Regions from separate parts of the Homo sapiens genome. Here region 1 is linked to region 2. Evidence: promoter capture Hi-C in 16 types of primary human blood cells and fetal thymus (Javierre and others, 2016). All regions are on one chromosome and are shown on one strand. The core of a region is centred on a gene start or on the middle of the fragment in contact, and the rest is flanking DNA. Distances in the headings are between cores, read along the strand shown.

What was found. Contacts are between HindIII fragments. The CHiCAGO score rates a contact against its expected background, and 5 or more counts as called.
Region 1: a fragment that was not itself captured here is called in contact with the fragment with the promoter of SUSD3 in region 2 in 1 of 17 cell types (fetal thymus); the score reaches 7.0 in fetal thymus.

The regions. Positions count from the first base shown.
Region 1 is chr9:93,579,549-93,583,437 of GRCh38, reverse strand. The region is part of intron 1 of PHF2 (PHD finger protein 2); the gene reads right to left. Among named protein-coding and RNA genes, the nearest start is that of PHF2, 4.9 kb to the right of the region's middle. The HindIII fragment of the contact is 1,546 bases long and covers 672-2,217 here.
Region 2 is chr9:93,056,254-93,060,228 of GRCh38, reverse strand. SUSD3 (sushi domain containing 3) reads right to left here and starts at 1,528. Exons shown (of 5, transcript NM_145006.4): 1 at 1,399-1,528. The coding sequence starts at 1,486. RefSeq lists enhancers at 1-452, 453-1,433 and silencers at 944-1,353, 1,364-1,813. The HindIII fragment of the contact is 6,174 bases long and covers 636-3,975 here.

The sequences.
Region 1 (3,889 bases), core at 195-2,694, 520 kb before region 2:
TTCCATTCCCAAGTATATATCCAAAAGAACTGAAAACAGGTGTTCAAACAAATATTTATACACAAATGTTTATAGCAGCACCATATACAACAGCCATAGGTGGAAAGAACCCAGATGCCCATACACTGATGAATGGATAAACTGTGGTCTATCCACACAATGAAATATTATTCAGCCATAAAAATCAATGAAACACAGACACATGATACAATGTGGATGAACCTCAAAAATATTGTGCTAAGTGAAAGAAGTCAGACACAAAAAGTTACATATTGTATGATTCTATTCGTATGAAATAGTAAATATCCAGAATAGACACACCTATAGAGACAGAAAGCAGACTGCTAGTTGTCAGGGGCTAGTGGGAGGAAGAAAGGGCAGTGACTACTTATTGGATACCGGGTTTACTTTAGGAGTGAGGAAGATGTTTGGGAACTAGATAAAGGTGGTGGTTGCTCAACACTATGAAGACACTAAATGCCACTCAACTTCACACTTTCAAATGGTTAATTTTATATGAATTTCACCTCAATTTTTAAAAAAGGTAAAAGGCTCGTTTCCCCATGTGCACATTTCTAGCTAAATATTTTCAATAAAAGCAAACATTCTGGCAATTAAGATGAGGCTCACACCAAATTGCTTCCTTCAAGACACGCCTCCTTTGGAAAGCTTTGATAGACAGGGACAGATACCACAAAGATTTTTCAGTTCCTATGCTTTGAGATCCAAACCACTGGCTAGAATTCTAAATATGTTCATATGTTCTTCTGTGAGTGACCCAGCACTATGGTGGCGGGGGGGTCCAGGAGAAAAGTAAACAGGTCCTGTACCCTAAAGCATAGAAGCCAAGTCCCATTCTGGACCTCACAGCTAGGGCCACCTACCTGCCACAGAGCCAAAAAGCTGAGAATCAAGGTTGGCAGAAGTTAGGGGACAGAGAAGGAGAGATGCAGAGAGGGAGGCACTACAGCGAGAGACCCTGAGAGACACTGGGTATATTCAGACCCAGGAGGGAGCTGCTGCAGTCAGCTGCTTGGACAGGGAAGCACCTCCCATCCCCTAGCTCAGTATGTGGCCTTCCTCTGTGACTACATTTCCGTCCGTGTTACACTGCTGAAACCATGGACACGAGCAGTTATCAGCCCCGGTATTTGCTCAGGCCCTTGAGCCAGAATAACCTAAGCCAGGTGCCACCTCCTCACCTGCACCCTCTGGGAGGTGAGTGTGTCCACCTGCTGCAGCTCAGAGTGCACCTGATGAAGCCAGAGACCTGTGTGTGACAGAGGCCCTAGCTGCTTCTGTGTCCATGCTGGGAATGAAGGTGACAGGGTGACCCACACTATCTGCCCCTCGCAGTCGACGTGGGAACCAAACATGATGAATGAAAAACCCCTATGGCATTAAACCCCGACTGAATGTTAGCTTCCGCAGCACAATCAGGCCCATCTGTTATTTAAAAAAACCAAGAGATGGACTTTGTTTTACCCACACCCTGAATTTCAAAAGTGAGATTCTCCCAGAGAACTGTGTCACGGAACACTATTTTCTGGCCCACACTTGCTCCCACCAGAAAAACTCACTCTTTTAGAAGGACCTGGCACATGTCGAGGCACTACAGGGACAGCCATAAAAGAGGATGCCTGGGGGTGGCAGCGTCCACCCAAATCTCTGCCCAGATTTTAGGGCATCTGTGGCCACATTTCACCCAAGCAGCCCCAAACAAACGTGGGCTGCAGTCCAGAAGTTCAGATCAAGCACACTTCCAGTCAAATATTAAGTATATTCAATAATAGCAAACGTTCTGACAATTAAGATGAAGCTCCTTGCTTCCTTCAAGACACACCTCCTTTGGAAAGCATCGACAGAGAGGGATGTCTACTTTACCCTCTAGAAGCTGGCCTGACATTCTTCCCACCTCCTCCAGAACTTTCAAAACTCACACAGGGGGAGAATTCCTTGTTTTAAAATGATTTATTCCTAAACACATCACAACAACATCTCCATGAGGAGAGCCCCTTCCCCCAGTACTCCCCGGCATTTGAGGTTCTAGGATTTAACTGTCAGTTCTGATCACCCAGATTTGACCCACGGCAGGACCTCCTTCCCTCTCGCACACACACTCCACTGGCCAACAACAGAGCTGGCCTGCAGCGCGAGGCCACAGCCCCGCCTGGTGTTCCCAGGTAGCCCCTGAACATGGCTCTGCCTCAAGAAGCTTAAGACTAGGTGGGCACAATGAGAGCCCAGAAAGGCCAACTCCATCCCTAGGGAGGTGGACACAGAGACAGGGCCCTGAGGAGGAGGGCAGGCTGAGCCCAGACAGACAGACGGACACAGAGGAATTGGAGGGAGCCATGCCAGGCAAGTCTTGTCCACTCTACCTTCTGAGCACTTCCAGAATGTGACCCTTCTACCGACCCCAGTCCTCACTCCCCACCCCCTGGGTACACAGGCAGGGTGACAGTCACCTCCTCACTGGCTCCCTGCCCCTAACCTTCTCCCAACCTCTCCCCACAGCAACATGCAACACGGGGGACAGTCAAAACCTCAGTCCACTCTCGCCCCTCCTCTGCTGAGACACTCCCCCTCCAGGGTGGCTGCCACCAATCTGAGAAGCTGCCTGGCTAACCCCTGGGCCCTCACAGCCAGCTCTGAACTCCGTACAGAATACAAGCCCAACAAATATTTACTGAGGTATGAATGAAATGTCTGTCACTTAAGTGACCTGAACAGCTTTCAATTTCTTTCAAGTCAGTTTTACTGATTACACCTCCAAAAACCCTTCCAGTCCAATAGAACAAGCAGCTGAAAGAGGGCCAGAAAGCTACATGTTAAGGATGTTTAAAACTTTAACAGAAGCATTCCTGCTTCCCAGAGATTTAAATTATTCAAAGTAAGTTGGTGACAAAGTGAGATGCCAGCTCACTTTGCAGGCAGGAGTGGAGGGCATGGGGCCTGGTCTCCATCCTCCAGTTGGAAGGCACAGGCACAAGGGAACACAGTGTACGGCCCAAGTGGCTTTATGTAAGAGTAGGATCCCTAAAAGGAGAGGACAGGTCCTCCTCAGTGCCGGTGCAGAGCGACACATCCCCACCAAATGAGGCAGACAAGACACCTCCGAAGGCAACCGGCCTCCAGCGGCCTCCTGCCAGGTCCTGCCACAAAAATCCATCCCTCCCAGGTCAAAGCCCACATTCTGGGACAGCACTCCAGTCGGTGCCAGTGAAGAAGGGCTGGGCTGGCGAGGATCCCCACCCCAGGAGTGATGAGCCACGGTCAAGATGGGGCCGGAGGAGGAATCTTGCGAGAACTTGGTGAAGGGACACACATCCCAAGGACAGAGGGGGGCTTCAAAGGAGGGCCTGTTTCCCCGACCTCTACTCCACACTTCCCCTCCAGTGAATGCAGGATGCATGACCCCAAGGATAGAACACAACGATTCTCCCTCCCCATGGTGAACATTCTCCCCAACCCAGGCCAGCGGGGCAGCCCCACCCACCAAGGCAAGAACACTGGGAGGGATGCTCAGAGTCCCTGAGTAGGCAAACACCCTAGAAGCAAGTTCTGGCCCCAAATGGCCAAAGCTCTATCCCAAACAAGTTCTCGGCTGCCGCCAAAGCTGCCAAGAGCAAAGACGCAGCCACCGCGACTGTAGCTGATGACTTAGAGACCCTCTCTCCAATTCTCCCCAAAACGGGGCTGGCTGGAAGAATGTGATGTGGCCACAGGTGGGACAGACAGGCATTTTACTCTAACAGTTGTGTGTTTATTTTTATAGTTACTGTGTATGGTAAGTTACAGTAATGTTTTATTTCAGGAAATGATATGAAGTTTCCTTTTAAAAGCAATATTTTCGAGAGTAAGGAGACATGAGGATTAAATGCAAGGT
Region 2 (3,975 bases), core at 279-2,778:
ATGGTGGTCAGAGGCAGAGCCAGGGCCAGGCAGGATGAACAAGAGCACAGGGTGCCAGACTAAGCTCCATTCCCAGCACAAATTCCAAGGCAAACAGCCTTTTGTATGCAAATATGCCAGAGCCTCCAGATACTCCCTGGCCTTGGGCTGACCTTGGGCAAGTCAAGGCTATCCAAAGGGCACTGGCACCCACGCCCCCAGGCTGTTGTGCCAGTAGAAGGGGCTCCTCAGGTAGTACCAGGCCCTGGGCAGGCCTTGCTCAAACACAGGAGCAAAAGTGCTCATCACCCCAACACCAAATTAGGGACTCTGGACATTAGGCTGCCAGAGTCAAACTAAATAAACCAAATCCACCAGCGCCAGGAACAAGTCTCAGCGCCCACTTTGCTGAGCTGCGGACCTCTGCTCGGTGAATTAGCTCCCTGAGCCGCAGTTTCCCCAACTGTGAGAGGAAGCCATTCTCCTGCCACCTTCCTGCCAGTTCCCTGGGGCTGCAGGCTGACAGTGTGACCTGGTCCAGCCCACCCCACTCCGGGCCTCAGCTTCCTCCTGCGCAGAGCCTTAGCCCCGCAACGCCTGAGACGCCCAGAACCCTCAGGCCTAACGTTCGTGGGCAGTGGCCGCGGAAGTAAGCTTTTGGGATATCTGAGACCCAGAGTTCCGGTTTGGTTCCGTTTCTAAAAGGGTTAGACTTTAGAATCATTCAAGGAGCAAGGCCAGCATTCGAACCCCGGAGCCTTGGGCACGGGAGCAGACAACTCTTTAAGCACATTCTTGAATTCAAACACTTAAAAGTAAAATAAAAAGCAGCTTCTCTTCCTTCCAAAGGCCTCTGAGCCTCCTCCGAGACAGCCGAGGCGATCCCAAGCCTGGCTACAGGGTGACCTCGGACAGCCACTCCCCTCTCGCAGGCTCAGTTTCTCCATCTGTAAAGTGGAGCTGCGCTGGTCACCAAGGAATCGTGAAGATGACACCTCCCTCAGGCGCAGAGAGGGCTCCCGGCTCCCCCCTCCCGCCCCCGCGCCACCCGCCCGCCAGGTGAGGCCGGTTTCGACTTCCCCGGGAGGGGCGCGGAGGGGCCCGGAGCCTGCGGCGTGGAGAGGCTTGGCCGGCCGCGCTGTCCGCAGACGCCCGGGACCAAGGCGCTGCGGCCACTCGGGAACGGGCGCGCGGGCTGCTGCGTGCAGCCGCCTGGTTTCGAACTGCTCGCTGCCAGGCTTCGGCTCCGCTAGGGCGCCTGCTGGGCCGGCGGAGGGTCGAGGAGGTTCGTCCTCGGGGCAGATCGTTGCTGTGGCCCCCACCCACGGCTGTGCGGCCCCGCGACCCCCTCCCCTCGGCTTTCCCGTCTGTGAAATGGGCGCAGAGCCCCGCACGCGGCCACTCGGCCCCAGCCCTCACCTGTGCGGTTCCCTGGGGCAGGCGTGGTGACCCCGGCCCGCCCCCGGGGCCTCGCCTTGCCACGGAGGGTGGCGGCCGCCCAGCGCATCCTGCGCGCTCCGAGGCGCTTGGCGGGGTCTGCCAGGGGAGTGAGCCCGGCTTGTGGGGGCGGGGCCTGGGCCTGGGCCTGGGTGAGGGGCGGGGAGGCCCCGCCCTCCACGCCCGCCCAGGGGCGGTTCCATGCAACTTACAGACCACGCCCACACGTTGGACTGGGGCCGAGGTCCGGCCGGGGGCTGTGGGCGGGGGCCCTTGGGGAGACCAAATACCCAGCGGGCCAAGGCAGCCGGCTGAGCGGAAAGTGTTGCTACTCCGGGGCGTTGCACGCGTGGCTACCTCTGCCCAACACCCTTCCCCCATCCCTTCCTGTTCTCACCTTCACTCCTAGTGTGGTTTTTCCATGTGCTTCTGTGTTTTTATTTTTTGAGCAGGATTTTGCCTTCTCAGGGTGCCGGATTCGGCCGGTACCAAAGGGCAAACAGCAAAACGCCTCCCCGGCCCGCCCCTCCCGTAACCCACTCACCCCCAGAGTCCTGTGTGGACCCAGCCTTCTTTCCCTGTCTCTCACTGGGCCAGGCCGTCTGAGGCACACTGAGGTCTGGGTGCCCTTGTTGTCTTCGGTTCTCACTGAGGGGCCCCCGGCTGGGGGAAACAGGATGGAAAGCCCTGGGGTCTGTCTGCAGGGCCCACCACACCTGGAGGCCTCCCTTCTCCTGGCTTCCCCTTCCCACCCAGCTCCACTTGCAGCAGGCCCAGAGCTGTGATCCGGGCTCTTTCTCTCCCTCTGACCCCACCCAACCCAGGCTTAGCCCCCTGCCCAGGCAGCCACCAAAGGGTTGGGTGTGGTGTCAGGCCTCAGACATCCTGGATCTTGGGCTGCTTGTGGGAGACCACCTGAGCCATGCCTATTCCTGTGGAGCTGGCAAAGGCAATCCTGGCAGAGGGAACAGCAGGTGCAAAGGCCCTGGTTTGGCAATGTGTGGCAGCAGAAGCCCAGTGCGGCTGGCTTAGGCATGCCTCCAGGAGCGCAGAAGGTGGCCCAGGTGGGCCAGGCTGGCTCTAGAGTGCCTGGCAGGTGACCGTGAAGAGTGTGGATGTTCAGGTGGACCATGAAGCAGGGTTCCAGCAGGGCAGCCCCTCCCCGTCTCTGCTTTCCGAGCCCTCCAAAGCTGAGGTTCAGTGTGAAACGTGAGGGGCCCTCCCCCTTTCGCCATCAGGGTTGGCGTCACCCCTGATATGTTCTTCCCACTTGGACTTGTGGGTCACACACGATGGCTTACTTCAATCTCCTTTATTCAAAATCAAGCATGTGTATTCTTTCTGCCATGTCGGGAAGGGCAGGGCCATCAGCAGTGCCCACTCCAGACCACACTCTGGGACCCCAGAATGTCTTGCCAAGTGGCCCCTAGCCCACCTCTCAGGCCTGTGTGGTCCCTTCCCTGGTTTTGCCCACCATGCACCACCAGGCAGAAGGCCACTGCCTGTAGGTGCATGGACAGGGCTGGGAGGGAGGTCTGGGGCAGCCCTCCAATAGCTGGGTGGAGCTAGGTGGGGATGGAAAACACCAGGCTGCCTGCAGCTCCCTAAGCCACCACGCTGTGACCCAGGCCTTCAGGAGCCTTCAAATGCTAAACACCTGGCCATTTAGGAAGTGTGTTTCCTAGAGCTGTGTAACATAGTACCCCAGACTGGGTGCCTGAGAACAACAGAAATTTATTGTCTTATGGTTCAGGAGGCCAGAAGTCTGAGATCAGGGTGTCGGCAGGCCTGCAGTCCCTCCAAAAACTCCAGGAGAACAGCCTTCCTTGTATCATCCAGCTTCTGGCAGTTCCTTGGCCGGTGGCAACTTAACTCCTGTCTACACATGGTGCTCTCCCTGTGTCTCTCTGTGTTCAAATCTCTCTTCTAAGGACACCAGTCATATTAGATTAGAGCCCACCGTAATGTCCTCATCTTAACTTAAGACCCTATAAAGAGTCTGTAAAGACCGGCCAGGCTCAGTGGCTCACGCCTGTAATCCCAGCACATTGGGAGGCAGAGGCAGGTGGATCATAAGGTCAGGAGTTTGCGACCAGCCTGGCCAACATGGTGAAACCCTGTCTCTACTAAAAATACAAAAATTAGCTGGGCATGGTGGCGCGTGCCTGTAGTCCCAGTTACTTGGGAAGCTGAGGCAGGAGAATCACTTGAACCCGGGAGGCGGAGGTTGTGGTGAGCTGAGATTGTGCCACTGCACTCCAGCCTGGGCAACAGAGCAAGACACCATCTCAAGAAAAAAAAAAAAAAAAAGAAGAGTCTGTAAAGACCTTGTCTCCAAATAAGGTCATATTTGGAGGTACTGAGGGTTAGGACTTAAACATATAGATTTTGGGGGACACAGTTCAGCCCCTGACAGGTGGGATCAAGGAGGAAAGAGCATGTTTTTCTGAGCAGTCTGTCGCTTGGTTGGGTTGTGGACATTCAGGCTTGTGGCGCTGGGCCTCCATTTGTACTGTTAGGGGACCTGGAGGTGGCCTAAGGACCTCTGTCATGTCGTTT